Linked DNA regions of Homo sapiens: regions 1 and 3 are each linked to region 2. Evidence: promoter capture Hi-C in human tissues and cell types (Jung and others, 2019). All regions are on one chromosome and are shown on one strand. The core of a region is centred on a gene start or on the middle of the fragment in contact, and the rest is flanking DNA. Distances in the headings are between cores, read along the strand shown. Region 1 overlaps DCT (dopachrome tautomerase). Region 2 holds the start of DCT (dopachrome tautomerase). Region 3 has its middle 51 kb from the start of DCT.

Region 1 (2,700 bases), core at 184-2,683, 34 kb after region 2:
TCCTGTCAGATCAGCAGCATTAGATTCTCATAAGAGTGCAAACCCTATCATGAACTGCACCTGAGAGGGCCCTAGGTTGCACACTCCTTATGAGAATCTAACTAATGTCTGATAATCCAAGGTGGAACAATTTCATCCTGAAACCATCTCCCTTCCCATCCACCACCCCCTGGTCCGTGAAAATTGTCTTCCTCGAAAACCAGTCCCTGGTGCCAAAAAGGTTGGGGACCGGTGGTGTAGAGGAAGTAGAGTATGTGGATTAGGAACTCTCACTTTAGAACCAGACTTCCTGGGTTCAAATTCTTACTCTACCATATATTAGCTGTGTGACCTTAGGCAAGTCACTTAACACTTTTGTGCCTTTTATTCCCCATCTGTAAAACAGGGTAATAATGTTATGGGTTGAATTGTCCCCCACAAAATTCATATGTCAAAGTCCTAATAGCTAATAACTCAGAATGTCACCTTGTTTGGAAATAGGATAGCTGCAGATATAGTTTATTAACATAAAATGTCATACTGGAGTAGAGTAGGTCCCTAATCTAGTGTGAGTGGTGTCCCTATAAAAAGGGAAAATTTGGACATAGGCACCTGCACACAGGGAGAACACTGCATGAGGATGAAGATAGAGATCTACAAGGCAAGGAATGCCAAAGATTGTCAGCAAGGCCCGAGAAGGTAGGAGTGAGGTCTGGAACAGATTTTCCCTCACAGTGCTTAGAAGGAACCAGCCCCACTGACATCTTGGTGTTGGACTTCCAGCTGCCTAGAAGCGAGACACTGTCTCCAACCGTAAGACAAATGCCTGTTGTCTAAGCCACCCAGTCTGTAGTACTTTGTTACAGCAGCCTGAGCAAACAAATAATATCCACCAAATCAGGCTGCTTTGAGGATTCAATATGTCATTTTGGGTAATTGAGCAAACACTAATAAATACTCACTAATTTACTTATCAAAAAGTGCTAGGCATGTGCCACATGCATTCCTAAATGCCCAGCTCCTCATTGGCTATATGTACAGTGTGTGTGATTTCAGAGGTGCTTGCAGGCCCCACCCACCTGCAAAATGCGAATTCCATCATTCTTCTTCCATAAGTCCTTGTCCCAAGTTAAAATAATAATAGTACTGATGGTATAGTCATAGTGATAACAACCATTGAATAACCATTTCCTACAAGAAAGGTGCTGTGTACTAGGTACCTAATATATATTATCTTCCCTACCTTCTCAGTGCCATGTTATTGGTGTCCACTGTTGAGGTTTACAGACCTCTGTGATCCTGGATCATCAGCTCCACAGGCTGTGTTTTATTCATCTCAAGCTGCGTCACTATCCCCGTTTCACCACCTCTGCCTTCTCATTCTCTGTCTGGATCTCTTAGCTACCCTCCCACCCAGGGGGCAGCAGTGTGGAGGAGAAGTCTCAGGCCTGACATTCCATCTGTTCTCCTTCCTGGAACCCAGAGGGGGCCAGGAAAAGGGGGTGGCATCTCTAGCCCCCCAACACTGAGGAAGAATGGGGCTCTTCCCATTTCACCCCGCCCCCCCACAGTTTCTCCCCTGCCTCCAGGAATGGGCCACTTCTGCATGGGGCAGCGGGTCCCAATTCAGCTCACACTGAGAATGTAAGAACTACAAACAAAATTTCTATTAAATTTTGTGTCTCAACAGAAAAGAGAAAGCGACCAAGGAACTCCCTTCCCTGCATGTGCTGGTAACCATGAGCCTGGGAGGCTCTACTCAGGTTTTTTTCCTTTGTTGTGTTTATCCATTTCTGCATAACAGATTACGATTACCCAAACACTCAGTGGCTTGAAGGTGACCATTTCATTTCTTACCATTTCTGTGGGTCAGGAATTTTGGAAGGGCTTGACTAGGCAGTTCTAGCCTAGCATCTTTCAGTGCAGCTGCAGTCAGATGGTGATAGGTGTTGGAACAGCTGTGGACTGGCCCGCTATCTGTTTTTCTTCCTGAAATCTTGAGCCTCGCCATCATGGTCACTCTATATGAGTTGGTTTGGGCTTCTTCACAGCATGGCTGCCTCAGGACAGCTGGACTGCTTATTTGATGGTTCAGGGCTCAGGCACAAGATAGGAACTGCAATACACTTTATGATTTAACCTTGAAAGTCACAAAATGTCACTTCTGTTGCATTTTATTGGTTATAAAAGAGTCAGAAACTCACCAAGTTTCAAGGGAAGGCCAGATGAAGCCAACCTTCAATGAGGGAGTGGCAAGATTCTAGAAAAGCATGTTAGTCAAGAAACAAACATTGTGTGGCCTTCTTTGGAAAATATATTTTTGTATATCCCTAGACACTGTTTATTTGCACAAACTGTTTATGTAAATAAAGATGCATGACACTGTCATCAGCCAACACATACTTAGTAAATATTGACTCTGTCCAGGTTGTATGCTAAGCTTTGCACTGTATGCAAAGTGTCTGCATGACACTGTCATCAGCAAACACATAGTTAGTAAACATTGACTCTGTCCAGGTTGTATACTAAACCTGAGACTTCAAAGGTGAAAAGTCCTTATCTTAGACCTTAAGGAGTTAGGATCTTGTTAGGGGACATAGATACATAAATAACAAGTTATAGTATCATTTGATCAGTGCTATAAATGAGGTACAAGGTACAGTGGTGAATGGAGGAATGAATACACTGAATAAGTATTTACTGAAATAAGTACCTCCCTTT
Region 2 (2,788 bases), core at 70-2,569:
GCCGCCTGGCTGACACACGCCAGTCCTGCCAACACCTTCATTTTAGACTTCTGGCCTTCAGAACAGTGAGAAAATAGATTTCTGTTGTTTTCAGTCATCCAGTTTGTGGTCATTTGTTACAGAAGCCTCAGGAAACTATTGCACATGGTCTCTTTTAGCTGATGCTGATGCAATATTTCCTTTGGAGCTCTGCTGTATTCTGATTCAGTGATTCTCAACTCTGGCTGAGCATTAGAATTGCCTAGATGTTTTCTAACAAAGGTTGGTTGGTGTCTGGAACATCCTCAGAGATTCTGATTCAGTAGGGCTGTGGTACAGGCTGATATTGGTGTAGAGTCAGACATAAGAATTGCCATTTAATTAGTCACAACAACTTAACATCAAGGGGTGGCACAGAGGTACAGGGGGTGGGAATACCTATATAATTGTTTCACCTTAGGAATTTGCTTTGAAACATAACAATATGTGTCTTTACATTCAAGTATATTCTTAGAAACTAGCTGAAGCCGTTTCGCATCCTTGTGGCACTAAGTCCTGTTTCCACTGTGAAACAGTTACCAAGACAGTCCTGTTTCCACTGTGAAAAAATAAATGGATGTTCTGACAGGTGGCCACCATTGCTGACCTGACCATTCTCCAGAAGCACCAGGAGGCATTGCTTTCTAGACTGAAGCTCAGTCATGCTTCACTTTAGTCTAATCAAAAAGATTTGCTTGCAAGCCTTCATTCCAAATGGTTCCAGTGCCTTCCATACAATCAGATAATGACAATTGTGAGTTTCTGGTGGCATGCTACTTCATGTAATTAAAAAAAAATTGCTGCGTAGATGTGCTGAATAGGAGAAGAGTAAGTTATTATTTGGAGGGAAGAGGATTCCCAATTGTGGAACAAAGCAATTCCTTGTACCCTGGTTCTACATAAATGTTTCTTTATTTTTGAAGTTGCATGACCCCCTGTTGTGGTCTTTTTTGCACACATGTCAGAAAGCAGCCATGAGTGCATTGTAGTTGGCAATGTGAGCTTCTGTGTAAAGGGTCTTTGACGAAGAGCTCACTGCATCTACTGACTCCCCAGGATGTCTGAGGTCACAAGTTTGGCTGGAGCACATGAGCCCAGATAAAGAAGATGGTTTTGCCCTCCTGAAATAAAGCCAGAAGTGATCTCCTTTATTGTGCACTTTGGGTCATGTGCTAATGATGAGGGTTTCTGTAATACTAATCCCCCTAATGAAGGCTTCTCCCAGCCCTTACACAAGCCCCCAAGGCCCCGTGGCTTGGCAAGCCAGAGAGAATAAAAGCAGCACGGTGTTTGGCTTTTGAACTGAGTTCAAGGCAATTAAAGTCAAGAGCTAAGGAGGGAGGGAGAGGGTTTAGAAATACCAGCATAATAAGTAGTATGACTGGGTGCTCTGTAAATTAACTCAATTAGACAAAGCCTGACTTAACGGGGGAAGATGGTGAGAAGCGCTACCCTCATTAAATTTGGTTGTTAGAGGCGCTTCTAAGGAAATTAAGTCTGTTAGTTGTTTGAATCACATAAAATTGTGTGTGCACGTTCATGTACACATGTGCACACATGTAACCTCTGTGATTCTTGTGGGTATTTTTTTAAGAAGAAAGGAATAGAAAGCAAAGAAAAATAAAAAATACTGAAAAGAAAAGACTGAAAGAGTAGAAGATAAGGAGAAAAGTACGACAGAGACAAGGAAAGTAAGAGAGAGAGAGAGCTCTCCCAATTATAAAGCCATGAGCCCCCTTTGGTGGGGGTTTCTGCTCAGTTGCTTGGGCTGCAAAATCCTGCCAGGAGCCCAGGGTCAGTTCCCCCGAGTCTGCATGACGGTGGACAGCCTAGTGAACAAGGAGTGCTGCCCACGCCTGGGTGCAGAGTCGGCCAATGTCTGTGGCTCTCAGCAAGGCCGGGGGCAGTGCACAGAGGTGCGAGCCGACACAAGGCCCTGGAGTGGTCCCTACATCCTACGAAACCAGGATGACCGTGAGCTGTGGCCAAGAAAATTCTTCCACCGGACCTGCAAGTGCACAGGTGAGGCCCATGCTCCAAGCTTGGTGGGGAGGGCCAGAGCTGGGGAAAGAGCTCCTTCTAAGGAAGAGATGAGACTCTTGACAGAGACTCTTAGATTAGGCTTTGAAAGGCAAACCAATGATGGTTTTGGTCGGAAGCATATTCAATAAGGCTGATGTGCTGGTTTATTCTTCACACCCTCTAGTACATCTAGTTATGAAGACTAAATAAATATGGCGTGGGCCAAGCCTGCTTATATGAATGCATGCCAACATACTATTGGCTTGTTTGTTGGAAGGGGAATTTAAGAGCTTAAAAGCGTCAGCTTTGAAACTCGGAGCAAGTCCTTTCAAGATGGATTCGGTGCCCTCTCCTGAAATGGGTTTGCACTTGTTGAAAAGGGATGGGTGAAGCTTGGCATTCGGAAGACAGGAGTCAAAGGCAGGTGTTCTGGTCTCAGCATTTCTCATGATTTGAACAGATCTCTCTCTCTCTCTTTTTTTTGGAGATGGAGTCTCGCTTTGTCACCGTGGCTGGAGTGCAATGGTGCTATCTCAGCTCACTGCAACCTCCATCTCCCGGGTTCAAGTGATTCTCCTGCCTCAGCCTCCCAAGTAGCTGGGATTACAGGCACCCGCCATCATGCCTGGCTAATTTTTGTATTTCGAGACGGGGTTTCACCATGTTGGCCAAGCTGGTCCCGAACTCCTGACCTCAGCAGGGTGCATGTTTCTCATTAAAGCTTATGACCAGGTTGTAACTTTGACAA
Region 3 (2,700 bases), core at 155-2,654, 51 kb after region 2:
TTCTTTTATAAATGTTGCTATTATTCGTAAAATCTTTTTGGAATACCTTTTAGGTAAATCTAGTGCAGCAGGTTAGATTTCATGGATCAAGACAAGAAATCCTGGCTTCAGAACTCAAATATAGGCTCTTCAGAGTACATAAAGATATTTGAAAAGCTAAGTGGGACTTAGCTCTGTAAGCTCATTGCTCTTTCACTCATGGCAGAAGAACCTGTGTGATTTTTTGGTGCTCAGGTGGGTCACTGAGGTACAGGTGGTTCCAGTTGGCATCAAGATCTCTCACCACTGAGTGAGAAATGAAGAAAAGGAAGAGTGACAGAGAGGGAAGCACTTCAAGGAGATCCAACCATCCTGCTAAGCCCCAAAGGGCACCATTGCCTTTTCCACTTGGTGGAGAGAGAACTGGAATGTAAATGGTGTGTGAAATGTTAAATGTGAGTGAACTTTAAGCAGTTGACATGGTGCTTCTGCTTCATTACCGATTGCATTTTTTCTGCTAGTGAAACCAGAGAAAATGTTCCCAGTTTCCAATTCTTTCTAAGAGATGAACAGCTTTAATGGCGGGCTCAGGTTGGACTTACTACAGGCATACTTTGGATAATCACAGCCTCCTGTTTTCTTGGTTTGCCTGCTGGGCTTAGCTTTGGGGTGGGAGAGAGGCAGAGGGGTTTGGGTGATTGGGAGGAAAAGAGCTGATTAGCTCCTCACTGCTCAGTCTGGAGCTTGAGCTATTTACTGCCTTACAAAACAGTCAAGAGAAATGAAGAGTCTTCTCTCTGCTCAGCATGTGTCCAAATCCTTGGAGGCTTTGACTTAGAATTTTAACCTTCCAGAGGTCATTTATTTGTCTTTGTATATTTTGTTGTCTTTCACACATTTGACTGTTGTACTATAACATATTCTTCCAGAAATTATGCACTGACACTTTAGGCCTGCCTTACAAATTGCACATTGGATTTGCTTATATCGTTGAACCAAAAAAAATTGTGAGCTATGTTGTGCTGTGTGTCACCTGTCAGGTAACAGCTCAGTTTCAACAGAATTGTTAGGTTTTTCTCTCCTGCAGTATTTGTGCACCTATTTGAATATTTAATTTAATGTTTACCCCTTAATATTTTAGAAAAGCGAATGCCAAATGAAGCAAAAAAAAAAAAAAAAGAGAGAGAAGGATTAATACTAGTGATAAATTTCACAAATAACACACGTGAGACAAAGATGGAAACCAAGTGGGGGTAGATTTAACTTCATTGGAATGCAAGGTGGATATCTATGGATTTAATTGTGAAGAGAAAGAATAGAAAGAAATGCAAAGTCCTAAAAATATATCCTCAGAAATTACATCAAAATGGTGAGGTGTAATTAGGAATTTTTGTAAATATTTTAAACTCTCTGGAAATACATATTTATTGTTGAATTTTTATTTCCAGCTTCTTTGGCTATTCCCTGTGATTAAAATTAGAATCCGCTGCTCTCAGATACGTGCTATTTGGCCAAGGCTAATTTTAACCTGCAATCCTAATCTGAACTATTTTTTTTATTAGGCCCTAAAACATAAAAATAATGTCTATTTATTTAAACGAAGGAAATAAGGCATTATACATCTCCCCTGCCCCCACTGGAGATTATACACTTCCTGAACAAAATTTAAAGAAACAAAGGCAGATAAAATTTTGCTCTTTTACCCCTCATCACTGTTACAAATTCAATACTTAACAAATGAAAATCGTATTCCTAACCCTGATTAAAAAGGCTTTTTTTTCCCCCAAAAAGTAACAGGCATGACTGAGATAGTAACCTTGGAGTCCAGATATGATTACATCTCTTTTTTTCCAGTTAATTGCTATGTGACCAGCTTGCTATATTAGTGGGAAATCTAGAATATCTTTCTGAGCTTTCCCCTGTTGAATTACTCAAAGTTGCCTGAGGCTTATGTAGTCCTCAGTCTGATTTCCACCCCTACGAAGGAAGCACTGGTGATTTATTAATCTCCTCTTGCTGTTATTTCTCATTAGCCCATGGTGTGGATTTTGAAATCTGGCTGTAAACAGTTCAGCAGGTGACGCTGATCCACTCTATACTGCAAGGATCATGCACTGTTCGCTCATTTGTCTACCGCTGCCTTCTCAGGGGTGCTGGACTTTCCCAGTGTGCAAGGTGTGGCCTCCTCTGCTGGCAGCTGTTGAGTTCAACTCTCTCAGTGCCACATTCAGGCCTTTCCCAGGGTACCAGTTATCCCAGGGTTTGGCACCTCTTGTTCCTGAACAAACTGATCCCTTTCCTGCAGAAAAAGGGGTGTGTTTTCTCTTTGGGCCCAGGAGCTTTTTCTTTTACAAATCTTAGAACTCAAAATGCTTGATTATACTTCTTTTATGGGTCAATGGCATTGCCTGTTCTTATTTCCAAGAGAGGCAAAACAGGATTTTTTTTTTTTTTTTTTGAGACAGAATCTCACTCCGTTGCCCAGGCTGGCATGCAGTGGCATGATCTTGGCTCACTGCAGCCTCTGCTTCCTGGGTTCAAGTGATTCTCCTGCCTCAGTCTCCCAAGTAGCTACAACTACAAGCACCTACCACTACAGCTGGCTAATTTTTGTGTTTTTAGTACAGATGGGGTTTCATCATGTTGGACAGGCTGGTCTTGAACTCCTGACCTCAAGTGATCCACTCGCCTCGGCCTCCCAAAGTGCTGGGATTACAGGCA

The links. The method cuts DNA at HindIII sites, captures the fragments that hold promoters and counts their contacts. A contact is called where the count stands out against the background at its distance.
Region 1: a fragment that was not itself captured here is called in contact with the fragment with the promoter of DCT in region 2 in 2 of the 25 tissues and cell types used here (dorsolateral prefrontal cortex and thymus).
Region 3: a contact is called between a fragment that was not itself captured here and the fragment with the promoter of DCT in region 2, in 3 of the 25 tissues and cell types used here (dorsolateral prefrontal cortex, small bowel and spleen).

The regions. Positions count from the first base shown.
Region 1 is chr13:94,444,731-94,447,430 of GRCh38, reverse strand. The region is part of intron 6 of DCT (dopachrome tautomerase); the gene reads left to right. Among named protein-coding and RNA genes, the nearest start is that of DCT, 34 kb to the left of the region's middle. The HindIII fragment of the contact is 3,651 bases long and covers 1-2,700 here.
Region 2 is chr13:94,478,213-94,481,000 of GRCh38, reverse strand. DCT (dopachrome tautomerase) reads left to right here and starts at 1,319. Exons shown (of 8, transcript NM_001922.5): 1 at 1,319-2,040. The coding sequence starts at 1,746. The HindIII fragment of the contact is 3,749 bases long and covers 1-2,246 here.
Region 3 is chr13:94,426,917-94,429,616 of GRCh38, reverse strand. No RefSeq gene overlaps it. Among named protein-coding and RNA genes, the nearest start is that of DCT, 51 kb to the left of the region's middle. The HindIII fragment of the contact is 6,484 bases long and covers 1-2,700 here.